2 separate regions of the Homo sapiens genome follow, and region 1 is linked to region 2. Evidence: promoter capture Hi-C in human tissues and cell types (Jung and others, 2019). All regions are on one chromosome and are shown on one strand. The core of a region is centred on a gene start or on the middle of the fragment in contact, and the rest is flanking DNA. Distances in the headings are between cores, read along the strand shown. Region 1 overlaps CDH4 (cadherin 4). Region 2 holds the start of CDH4 (cadherin 4).

Evidence for each region. Contacts are between HindIII fragments. The study calls those that stand out against the background at their distance.
Region 1: a contact is called between a fragment that was not itself captured here and the fragment with the promoter of CDH4 in region 2, in 1 of the 25 tissues and cell types used here (dorsolateral prefrontal cortex).

Annotation. Positions count from the first base shown.
Region 1 is chr20:61,875,748-61,880,846 of GRCh38, reverse strand. The region is part of intron 7 of CDH4 (cadherin 4); the gene reads right to left. Among named protein-coding and RNA genes, the nearest start is that of MIR1257, 75 kb to the left of the region's middle. RefSeq lists enhancers at 1,236-1,736, 1,737-2,237. The HindIII fragment of the contact is 6,175 bases long and covers 666-5,099 here.
Region 2 is chr20:61,250,719-61,255,835 of GRCh38, reverse strand. It overlaps CDH4 (cadherin 4), which reads right to left and starts at 3,575. Exons shown (of 16, transcript NM_001794.5): 1 at 3,266-3,575; 2 at 899-1,010. The coding sequence starts at 3,322. RefSeq lists an enhancer at 779-1,471. The HindIII fragment of the contact is 10,940 bases long and covers 248-5,117 here.

The DNA of each region.
Region 1 (5,099 bases), core at 2,504-5,003, 620 kb before region 2:
TCTGGCCTTTGGAAACCTTGAGACAGCAGTGGTGGGCGCCAGCTCACGTGTGGCCCAACCTTCAGAGCACGCACTGCCCAGCGTGCCTGGGAACCTCATCCTGTGTGGGGACCGCGCCCAAACCTCGACCCTCTCTCTGCATCCGACCCTCACCCCCAAGGCCAGGGGTGGCGGCCTCTGCGTCCTGGGGGTGACCTGCTGGCCTGGGGTCCTCTTGGGGCTGCTCAGTGCCCCACACTTGGGGGACGCCATGGGACTCGGGAGCCGAGGCCTCTGTTTCGGAGGGAGGTGGAAGCCCCAAGATGACGGCTCCTTGGCTGGGTCCACCTTCTCACCGCTGTCCTTCCCTCTCTTCTCTTCTTTTGGGAGGGGGCGGAGGGGAGATCAAGAAGACTTCAGGGGCACAAATCCGGCCCGAGGTGGGTCAGCAGCAGATTTGTCTCAATTGCTAATATTTTTTTTTCTGCAAGACAACATAGCCATATTCGGTGTCTTCAAAACAGGGTTCCATGACAGTGATTCAAAACCCAGCCAGCGGGAAACGCTGAACCCCGCCTGCCCCAGGCTACTGCCCTCCCCAGGCAGATGCCTCTGGGTGGGGCTTACGAGAGGCTCGCTGTCTGGGAGAAATGCCTTCAGAAAGCCACGCCGCTCTCAGAGGGAAAGGGGACATTCTGGTCACCGACGAACACTTTCTACTGGAATTTGAATCATGTGAATACATTAACTAAAGTCGATGGTGGTGAGAACGATATCCTGAGCAGTAGAACAGAGCCACGTTATCACTCTCCATCCATTGGATGACAGCACCGGGCGGGCAGAGGGTCTTGAAGACGTTCGGGGAGGTGTGGGTTTTGCTTTCCCCAGAATCCTTTCAGACCAGGAGATCACGAATTCGGCCCCCCTTGTTTGGGAAGAAATTTCAAGCTGATGGAGGTGACCAGGTGATAGTCCTCTTGTGATAGGACCGGAAGGCCGGATTCAGTTTCTAATAACAAAATCAACATCCTCGGGAGCAGCCTGGAAGGGACGCTGAGAACAATGCTGGCCCGGTGCTAATTTCACTGCCCAACAATCGGAACAGCGCCTGCGTCTGCAGAGCCCACTCTCACCTTCAGGACGGGGCTCGGGCGGCACGTTCACCTCCTCATTAGGCCATAAATATTCTAATTAGGAAACAACGCCAGATGAATAGGATTAGCAAGTGGGGCATCTTCGGCTGGTACACGAGAGACACTTGAACCGCTCAGGTCTTATCGAAGCCTCTCCTGACATCTTAATCAAGTAGAAGCGCTCAATTTACATAGCTCTGCCTAATTAGACACGGCGGCAATGATGTTTGTGGATTTTCTTCTTCCTAAAGATGACTCACTCTGTCAGATGGAGGCTGGTGCTGAGAAGTATCTCTGGTGCTTCCCCCGAAGACTCTGCTTGTTGCCCAAGGGCAGGGGAGATGAATCTTTTTAAAGGGGGAGGAAGAGAAAAAGGAACTACCGATGTGTCCTTTTCAGAAGTGGCTGAGCTGTCCGGCCGATGCAAGGCAAGCTGGGCTGGTGGAGAAATGGTCCCGATGTGTGCTCTTCTCTGATACGCCAAGCCAGACAGAAATCAGCTTCTCGGGCTCAGCAGGCCTGGGCCCAGGGGGGCAGTGGCTCTGCTGGGTGAAGGCCGGGTCCCGGGGGAGCTGAACTGGTGCTCGCTTGGCGTCTACACTGCTGTCAGTGGCCGCCTGCGTGGGTTTACTAATGCCTGGCAACGGTGGTCCTGGAGCCGTTGTCTTAAAACCTGTTGTTGTTTTATTGTTTGCTGCTGAAAATCCGACAACGTGCATCCTCTGCTGCAGAAGCGGTTATAATTATAAACCATCATTCAATTTCCCCAGGAGGTGGGCGAAGGAAGAGCAGGGCAGCTCTGAACATTAAGCACAGACCCACACTGAAAGCAGAGCCCTGGCGAGGGGCGCCCTGGCCTCGGCACACCCCCGCCGAGTCTTTGGCAGCTTCCAGGACTTCTATTCCGAGGCAAAGGCGAAAAAGTGGGAGAGACTGTGTGCAAGGCGGGAGACAGGACCTGGAATGGCTGAGCGGGCAGAGTGGGGTGGCCAATGCCAGGGCCCTGCGTCTCCTCCGGCCAAGGGGTCACAAATTCAGAGGTCACCTACGACTTTGAGACTATGCCATAAACTGCTGCAGAGACTGGCCCAAGGGGATGACCTCTCCATGTCTGGGGAGGGAAGCCCGCCTCAATGTCCCCACTGGGAGGGGCTGCTGAAGACCTGGGGCCAGGCGGGGGCCCTGGGACATGGCTGCTGCGTGCTGGAGGCAGCTTCCCTAATGGAAGCCCTCGAGCTGGTGCCTTTAGAAGGGGAAACAGACTTGTTTGCACAAGGAAAATAACGTGGAAATGACATGAACACCTTTGGTTCTGCTCACGAGAAGCCCTGAGGGCGCCCAACACTGTCTCTGTACCCAAATGGAGCCAGCTGCAGGCCACGCCTGGGTCTGTCTCAGATTCAAGACCCACAGCCACCTTCCAGCCGGGGGCTGCATTGAACCTGGGGAGGGAGCAGCTCAGGGACCTGGATGTTCCTAGGCTTGGGCTCGGTTTGAAAGGGGCAGGGGGAACAGAAGGTGGGAGGGGTCCTGCTGCCGGGCACGTGCTGCCCATGAAGGTCTTGTTTTGATCGTGGCTGGAAATGAGGACGCCATGGCCACGATGGGGCCTTAGCTTTGCCCCAGCTGCCCCAGGCCTACAGCTCAGCTCCTGGCCACTCACGCAGGCCAGGGCCTGTTGTCCTCTCTGGGATGACCACGCCCGTCTGTGTCCACGAAGTCCTCCCTCTGGGGCCCCCGTGGTTCCTGGTGATGACCCTGTCACAGTCTGCTTGGGGCCGGGCCTCATTTGGGTTACACCTCATCCCCTGCCTGGGGGTCCTCCCAGCCAAAGACGCGTTGTCACACAATGGACCCCAGGGACGTTCCGGGGGTCATGGCCCCAAAGTCCAGCCCCATGACCGTCCCCTGAGCCCCTGAACCATGGCTCTGCTGTCCCCCCACGATGCTGGTCCACATGGGGGTCCCAGGTTTCACTGCATCAACCAGCTTGTTTCACACGCACAAGACAGAAACTGATCTTCCTGGAATCGAATGTTAGCAGCTGAAGGATCATCAAGGAAAATAACCACACAACCTATGTTCCCGACGAGCCCTGGAAGAGGAAGACACGGGACCGCCCTCTCCAGCACACCACGCCTGAGATGCACCAGACGGGGCCTCCCGTCGGATAGAAGCCGGGCTGTTCACATCCCCAGGCACACACAGCGGAGAACGCCAGCGCCCGCAACACCAGCGTCTCCTCATGTTCCTCAATCTTCATAAATCTCCGTCTGTCAACCACACCTCTAATGGCTTTTAAATGAGCATTTTATGTGGAACATTTTGCAGGCCACGCTGAAGCTGCCGACAGCGGGGGGTGGGGGGTGGGGGGTGGGTACCGCTCTGTGTCTGCTGTGGGCCTTGGGGAGCAGGCTGGCCCCGCCTTGCCTCGGTGTCTGGCCTGGGCAGGGGGTCCAGCTGCCGGGTCAGCCTCACTGGGGCCTGGCCAGTGGGTGGGGAGATCTCTGGGTGGCTGGGACTGCTAGCCCTCCCTTGGCCGAGCTGCCATGATCTGTAGGGGCAGGGGGAGCTGAGCCCAGGAGGCTGGGCACTGTCCCTATCACGGGCCTTGACATGCCCACAGGAATGCCTGGCCCAGGGAGGCCAGGGGGTGTCCCTCCCGTAGGGTGCACCAGGCCAGCTGGGGGAACCCCAGGGGGTCGTGGGCTCCGTGGCGCTCTTGATCCCTCCCAAGGTCAGAGCCTGCACCCATACTAACTGCCGGGGCCTTGTGAGATTTTCAGCTATGAAGAGGGGTCCACAGATGTTGCCTAGATATATTTTCAGCCTGGAAAATATCACATATTCTTTCCTACAATATAAACTACAAAGTACCCCAGACCTCCCAGCCCTCCACCCGGCAGTGGGAAAGCTTTAGCTGTTTGTCTTTAGTCCCTTTATCTATAGACATTCGTGCTGAAGGAGACCAGATGGTCCTGAAGCCACAGGGACCCCCTCAACCCCACTGGAAACCAGAGGGAGGGCGGACCGACACGAAACCAGTGCAGGCCAGAGCAGGTGGCCTATGGTCCCCTTTAGATCCCCAGCTTATCATTATAATACGAAAACCCCGGCCCTAAGGGAAGACTGCTGCCATGTTGTACACCAGATGTAAGAAGAGATGTGTTCATGGACTGCGTCTGCACGTCTAGAACCCTCCGCACGCCTGCATGCCTCCCCTGCAGGCACCCAATCCCGTGAAACTCCCACACCTTCCCCTTCCCAGTTCTCCGGTCGCTCAGTAGAACCAGCTGCCTCTCCAATTGGACGTTGCTCTCTCGCGGCCGATATAGAGTAGGGAGAGAACGGTTTCCTGCGGCCAGCATGCAGCCAGCCATGCCCCTGCACTGGGACTGGACGGCGAGGCCCCATCGGATCTCCCTAAGCATCCCCACTGCCCTTTTGGCCCCTGTGCTTTCCCCGTCACACACCAGGAGCTGATGGCACGCAGGTGGGGCAGTCTGTGGGCTCTAGGTAACCCCTGACCCTGCCCCTGCAAGGGGCCATCCCAGAGGTGCCGGCGCTCACAGGCCTGACCCTTGCTCGGCTGTCCTGTCCTCTCCTTGGACACAGCCGGCAGCCGTGCCATCCCATCTGTACCTCTGGAGCATCACGTGTGTGGGAGTGTGTGGACAGGGGCTTGCACGCACACGCTCCAGTCAGACCACCTGCTCTGCCAAAAGCTGTGCAAACGTCCCAGAGAGGTGCCAGCCTGTGGAAACGAGCTGCTCACAGGTGTGTGTGTGTGTGTGTGTTGGGGGAGCGCAAACAGGGGCTGCCCTCTCTCCCCAGGGCAGGCGGGGGACCCCAGGCTACAGAGGAGATGGGGGACGGTATCTGGTTCCTGTACATCTGTATGGGCCTCACTAACAGCACTCCTGACTCGGCCATGTGCCCATGGGATCATCTCCCTAGCTGAATGACGGGACCAGGGCCAGGTGCAGC
Region 2 (5,117 bases), core at 2,326-4,825:
CTATAAGCGTGAGCGAGTTCACGCACATGCATGCACACACACACATACACAGGAACCGCTGTCAGTTCTGGAGGGAAAAGTTTACATTCCCTGGGACACAAAACCGGTAGGGCAGTCAACAGTCCTGAATGTGGAAATTTAGCTTCGATACTTTATCAAAAGTCCTCTTCCTCTATCGCTTTGAAATCAATTCAAAGGCTGCCACTTCCAGGAAACTGATGCAGAGAGGAAAGGCTCACAGCCAAGGTGCTCATGGCACAGAACTGATTTATGTCCCCTCCTATGCAAATATAAAGTCTAATTAGTTTGTCTTGAAAGGGAAACAGACCAATAAGCAGGATGATCTACTGTCATCTGAGTTTTGAAGCTGTCTCTGACTTTCCCATCACAAGTGTGGATATAATCCTGCAATTACGATAAAGCTAATTGGTAGTTCCCTCCTGCATGTGTGTTTTCGTGTTGTCAGTGGGGCAGTAATGAAAATGAATGCCACATTTGTGAACAGACCGTCTGTGGGCTTATTTACCGCATTTCCAACAACATCGTCTGCTTTATCATACATTTCAAAGCAGGGATAATTTAAGTATCCAGAACTTCATGCATAAAAATACTTGGTAAGAAGGTCTCTCTCTGCACACTATTTGGGTGATGTTACATCCGAATTACAGTTTGCTGCCCAGGAAATGATTCACTTCACTCAAAAATGACCGGGGTTCTGAATCATTCACCTGTTATGCAAAACGCCTTTCAGGTCAACCAATTTGCACCTCGTGGACTTCACCACCATCATTTCACAGAGAGCACAAAGATGAGGCAAGCCTTGCCTCTCCCATCTACATGTTTCCCCAAGGAAAAGCATGGCAGCAATTCACTCCCACCCCTCCACACCCCGCCTTACCTTGAAGTAGCTTTTCCCCTTCTAGAATATTTTGGGAGATTAATGCCGTGTAATCATCTTCAGAGAACCCAGCCTTGCAGGTCTCTCTAGTTGTAAGATCCTCATTATGGGCCTGAGAACACAAAGGGGAGAGTGTAAAACAATAAGTTCACAGAAATTTAATCCAACCAACATTCATCCAGGGCCTGCTGTGTAAAAGGTCTCTGGCTAAGAGAGAAAGGCTGGCAGGCCACCGTCTCCACCCAGACGCGATACCCCGTCTGCTCCTCTGCTCTCTGGGGACTTTAGGGAGCACTCTCCAGGCTACAGACCAGGAGCATCCTTCCCCAGCCCCACACACAGCAGGCAGGGAGTGAAGGACGGACTGTTGGGGAAGCCAGGCCGGCCAGGGCCTTATTGGCAGAGGAGACGCCTGAGAAATGACCAAAAGGCAGAGACAGAAGACTTCAGCCGCTGCTCCCGAAGCCACTAAGGGCAGGGAGGCCAAAGTGTGGGCGGCTCTGCTCAGACCATTCGCGCTTTAGGCCCACCGCTCTGCGCTCTTGGTAAGGCGGAGGAGGCAGCTTCTTGTCTCCTCTCCAGGTCACCGGGAGGGAGGAGAAAGAGGAGAGAAAGGAAGAAGATTCTCTAGGACTAGGTCCGGAGCCGGTCGAAGAAGGCAGCTCTGCGGGAGGCTGCCGGTGGCTGGGGTGAGGAGGCAGTGGGGGCGCTTCCACCTTCTAGTCTTCAGCCCGCATTTTCACCCTCGGAGCCCCCATCTCCAGCCCAGGCAGGGAGACGGCTCCCCTAACTGACCGGAAAGGGGGTCTCCTCCTGTCCTCCGGAGCTCGCTCGCCTTTCCTGCTCAGTGGGGAAGTCTAGAGCCCATGGCACAGGGCCAGGGAAGGATGGGGTGGACGACAGGGCCCTCCGACCAAGCTTCTGGGAGGGGGCGTGACAGGCAGGAGGAGGTGGTGGAGGGAGAGGCAGTGTGTGCAAGCGGGAAGCCAGCCCCGCTGAAGGAGCAGGAGCACAGCGGTGCTTGGCTCCCCGGCGAGCGCAGGAAGCCTCGGGTGCAGCCCGCACCGGGCAGTGGCGCCTCCCGCCCGCCGCCTCCTCCAGCTCCGCGCGCTGCCGTCGCCCGCCCATGCTTCGACTCCGGAGGCCGCCCCCAGCCCGGAGCTCCAGGCTTCCCGACGCCGGCACCGCGGAGGGCGCCCCTCTACCCCCAGCACCGAGGGAGGAGAGCGGGACGCAGGGTCATTCCTTACGAAAAGCTCTAAACCGCGGCTTTCTTCATCGGCCACGAAGCTCCAAATCGCACCCGCAGCCCGGTGGGAGGCTCAACTCGCCCAGGAAAGTTTCCGCCCGCCCGAAGCGTGTGCCCAGCGCGTCCCCCAGCGCCCCGCGGCCTCGGAGCGGGCCTCCCGCCGCTGGCACTTGTTTATTTCCGAGGTTACAACAGCGCTGCCCGGGAGAAGGCAGCGAGGCCGATCGGCCACGAGAGGGGGTTCCTGCAACTCCCGCCGCCCCTCCGCCTCCGCCCAGGGGCGCCCCCGGAGCCGCCGCGCTCTCTGCCCCCGCGGGCCGCGCACCTCGCCAGGCGCAGAGCAAAGCTGGCAATCCGGCCCGCGGGGCTCTGCAGAGGCAGCGGGAGACCCGCTCGCCCTCCCGGGGCGCCCTCCCGCGCCGCGCCCGCCCGGCGTCCGGCTTCCCGGCCCAAGCCCGGCCCAGCTCCCAGCCCCCGGGGCCCCGCCGGACACGCAGGCTCCAGCCCCGCCGAGGGCTCGGGGGTGAGAGTGCCCCGCAGTCCTACCCCGCCGCCCACCCGCAGCGCGGGTCCTGCCGGCACCCACAGAACTGAGCGGCGCCGCTAGACGGACCCCCAGGCCTTGGGCAGGAGAGGTCGGGCAGGCGCCCCGCACTCGCGGATCCCTGGCCCGCAGCCGCCGGGCGCCCCACGCCTTCAGCCACGGCCGGGGCTGGGCTCGGCAACTCCCGCGGCGCGCGGCTCCCGGGCGATGGAGGGCGCGCCGGCTCCGCCAGTGGAAGCCTGCCCCATGCAGGCAAGCCGAGCTCCGGGTAGCGGCTACGGGCTTTGGGCGTTCGAGGGAGGCTCGGCGGGTCCGGTGCAGGCGGAGCTCCCCGGGTCCTCCACCGAGCCCCACTCCCACCCTGCTCCGCCGCTCCCCGCTGCCCAGGCGGCTTCCCGCTCCTGCCGACCGCAGGCAGCTTCGCCGAGCGCGGGCGCCGGGCTGGATGCAGCGGGGAGCGCGGCGGGGGAGCCCGGGAGAGCCCCGCCGGGTGTGTGAGCGCCCCGCGGGATCCGGGGACGACCTCCCGCTGCCCGGGGCTTCCGAACGGCGGGGGCGGGAGGCGGCAACTTACCCGGAGCGCGCCGGAGAGCGAGAGCAGCAGAAGGAGCACGCCGGCGCCCGCGGTCATCTTCCCCGCCGCCCGCCCGGTGCCCGGCACCGGGAGCCCGCTCCCTGCCGCCGCCGCCGCCGCCGCCGCCGAGACCACCGCCGCCGCTCCGATCGCCGCCGCCGCCGCCGCTCCCCCGCGCCTGCCCGGAGCCTCCAGCCCCGCTGCGCCCGCCGCGCTCGCCGCCCCGGCTCCGGGAGCCAGGCCAAGTCCGGCCGGCGGCGCGTTCCCTCGGGCCGGTGCGTCCGCCGGCCTCGCAGCCGCCCGCGCCTCTGTTCCGCGCGCTCGGAGCTGCAGGTGAAGCCGCGGCCGCCCCGCCGAGGCCCCGCCCCGCCGCCCGGCCCCTGCGCTCGCTCTGCCGACGCGGGCCTTAAAGGCGCAGAGCCCGCGCCCGCGCCCCCCGCGCCGCACCAGCCCAGCCTCTGCCCTCCTGGACGTCTGGAGCCGCCCGGTTGCGGCCGAAGAGGCCAAGGACGCTCGTTTTCCAGGGGAAAAAGGCGCGGGTGTGGAGACTGAAGACAGCGCTGGGGTTTCCGCCCCCACACCCGGGGCACCCTTTCTGGATGGGGCGGTCCCGCCGCGGTCTTAGTCCGACTTCCCGCCCGGGCCCGCGGTGGGAGTGTGCACTTCCATTCTGTCCTTTTATTTTTCAGGTGTCTCCTTGCTAACTCCCCTGACCCGGGCTTGAACCCAGGTCGGGCAGCTCAGGGGTGAGAGTTTCCACCTGGAGCAGATGAGCAGAGGGCCACGCTGAGATTTCAGCCTGTGGGGCTTTGCAGACCCTCCCGCTCCTAGGAAAACTCAAAGCCCTGGCCTGGGCTAGGGATGTACCCTAGGATTGGGGACGGTAGTAATTCCTGTGTGTGCATCAAAACACCCTGTTAGGCCTCAGAAGCCAAGAAAGAAATTAGAAGCTCCAAGAAAGAAAGAAGTGCCCAGACAGGAGCTGTCAGGAGTGTCTGCGCCGACAGGCTGGGCCAGCTCCAGCTCCCTTTGCCCTGCATGGGTGATGGCTGAACTGGGGGGCACTTCTTTAAGGGTTATCAGGTAAAATATATGTACAGGTCGGACAGTGAGTAAATGTTTCTGCACTTTTCCTTTTGGCTTGGAGATTTAAAGAAACGCGGTTTTGTTTGTTCAGATACATCGAATTTTCTTTGTCTGGGGTTTCAGGGACTCTGTGTCCAGAATACATTAGTTCTGGTTTAAGAAATAGGTTGCAAAGGAGAGGGTGGAAGATTGAGTGACACTGTTGAGCTCCAAGATCAGAGTCCACTTGGGCAAGCCAGTAGAGAAAGCTACAGAGCAGCCGCTTCCCTCTCTCCCTCCCAGAACCCCCACCCTTGGGGGCAGGGTGGTCTCCCGGTTAGAGCTCTGCCTTACGCTTAAGGAAACCAGATTTTAGATAACCCCAGAGGACCAGAGTAAGCACTACATCCGAGAGCACAAGGCGAGATTCGGTTTTGCAACTTAACTATGGAACTAGTCAGGAGACACAAAATCTGCCCCAGCCTGGACTCCTATCAGTTATGGCCTTGTCCCACTCCCCACCTAGCCGAAGAAGGAGAGGTTACCAGTTGACATGGCTGGAGGTTTAGACTCACTCGAAGGTCCTGCGTAGCCAGTGAGGTTTCATGAACAGATCCATCCAAAATCCTCATGGACAGAGAATTCCATTCCTCGGCCATGTGCCCGTCCTTTGGGAAGACGCCCCCTCTGCTTTCCTCCTTATTCAAGGTGCTTCACCACTGCTCGAGCGACATCAGAAGCTGTCCAAGACTGCTTTAGACACCAAGACAGCTCTCTTGTCTTGTGT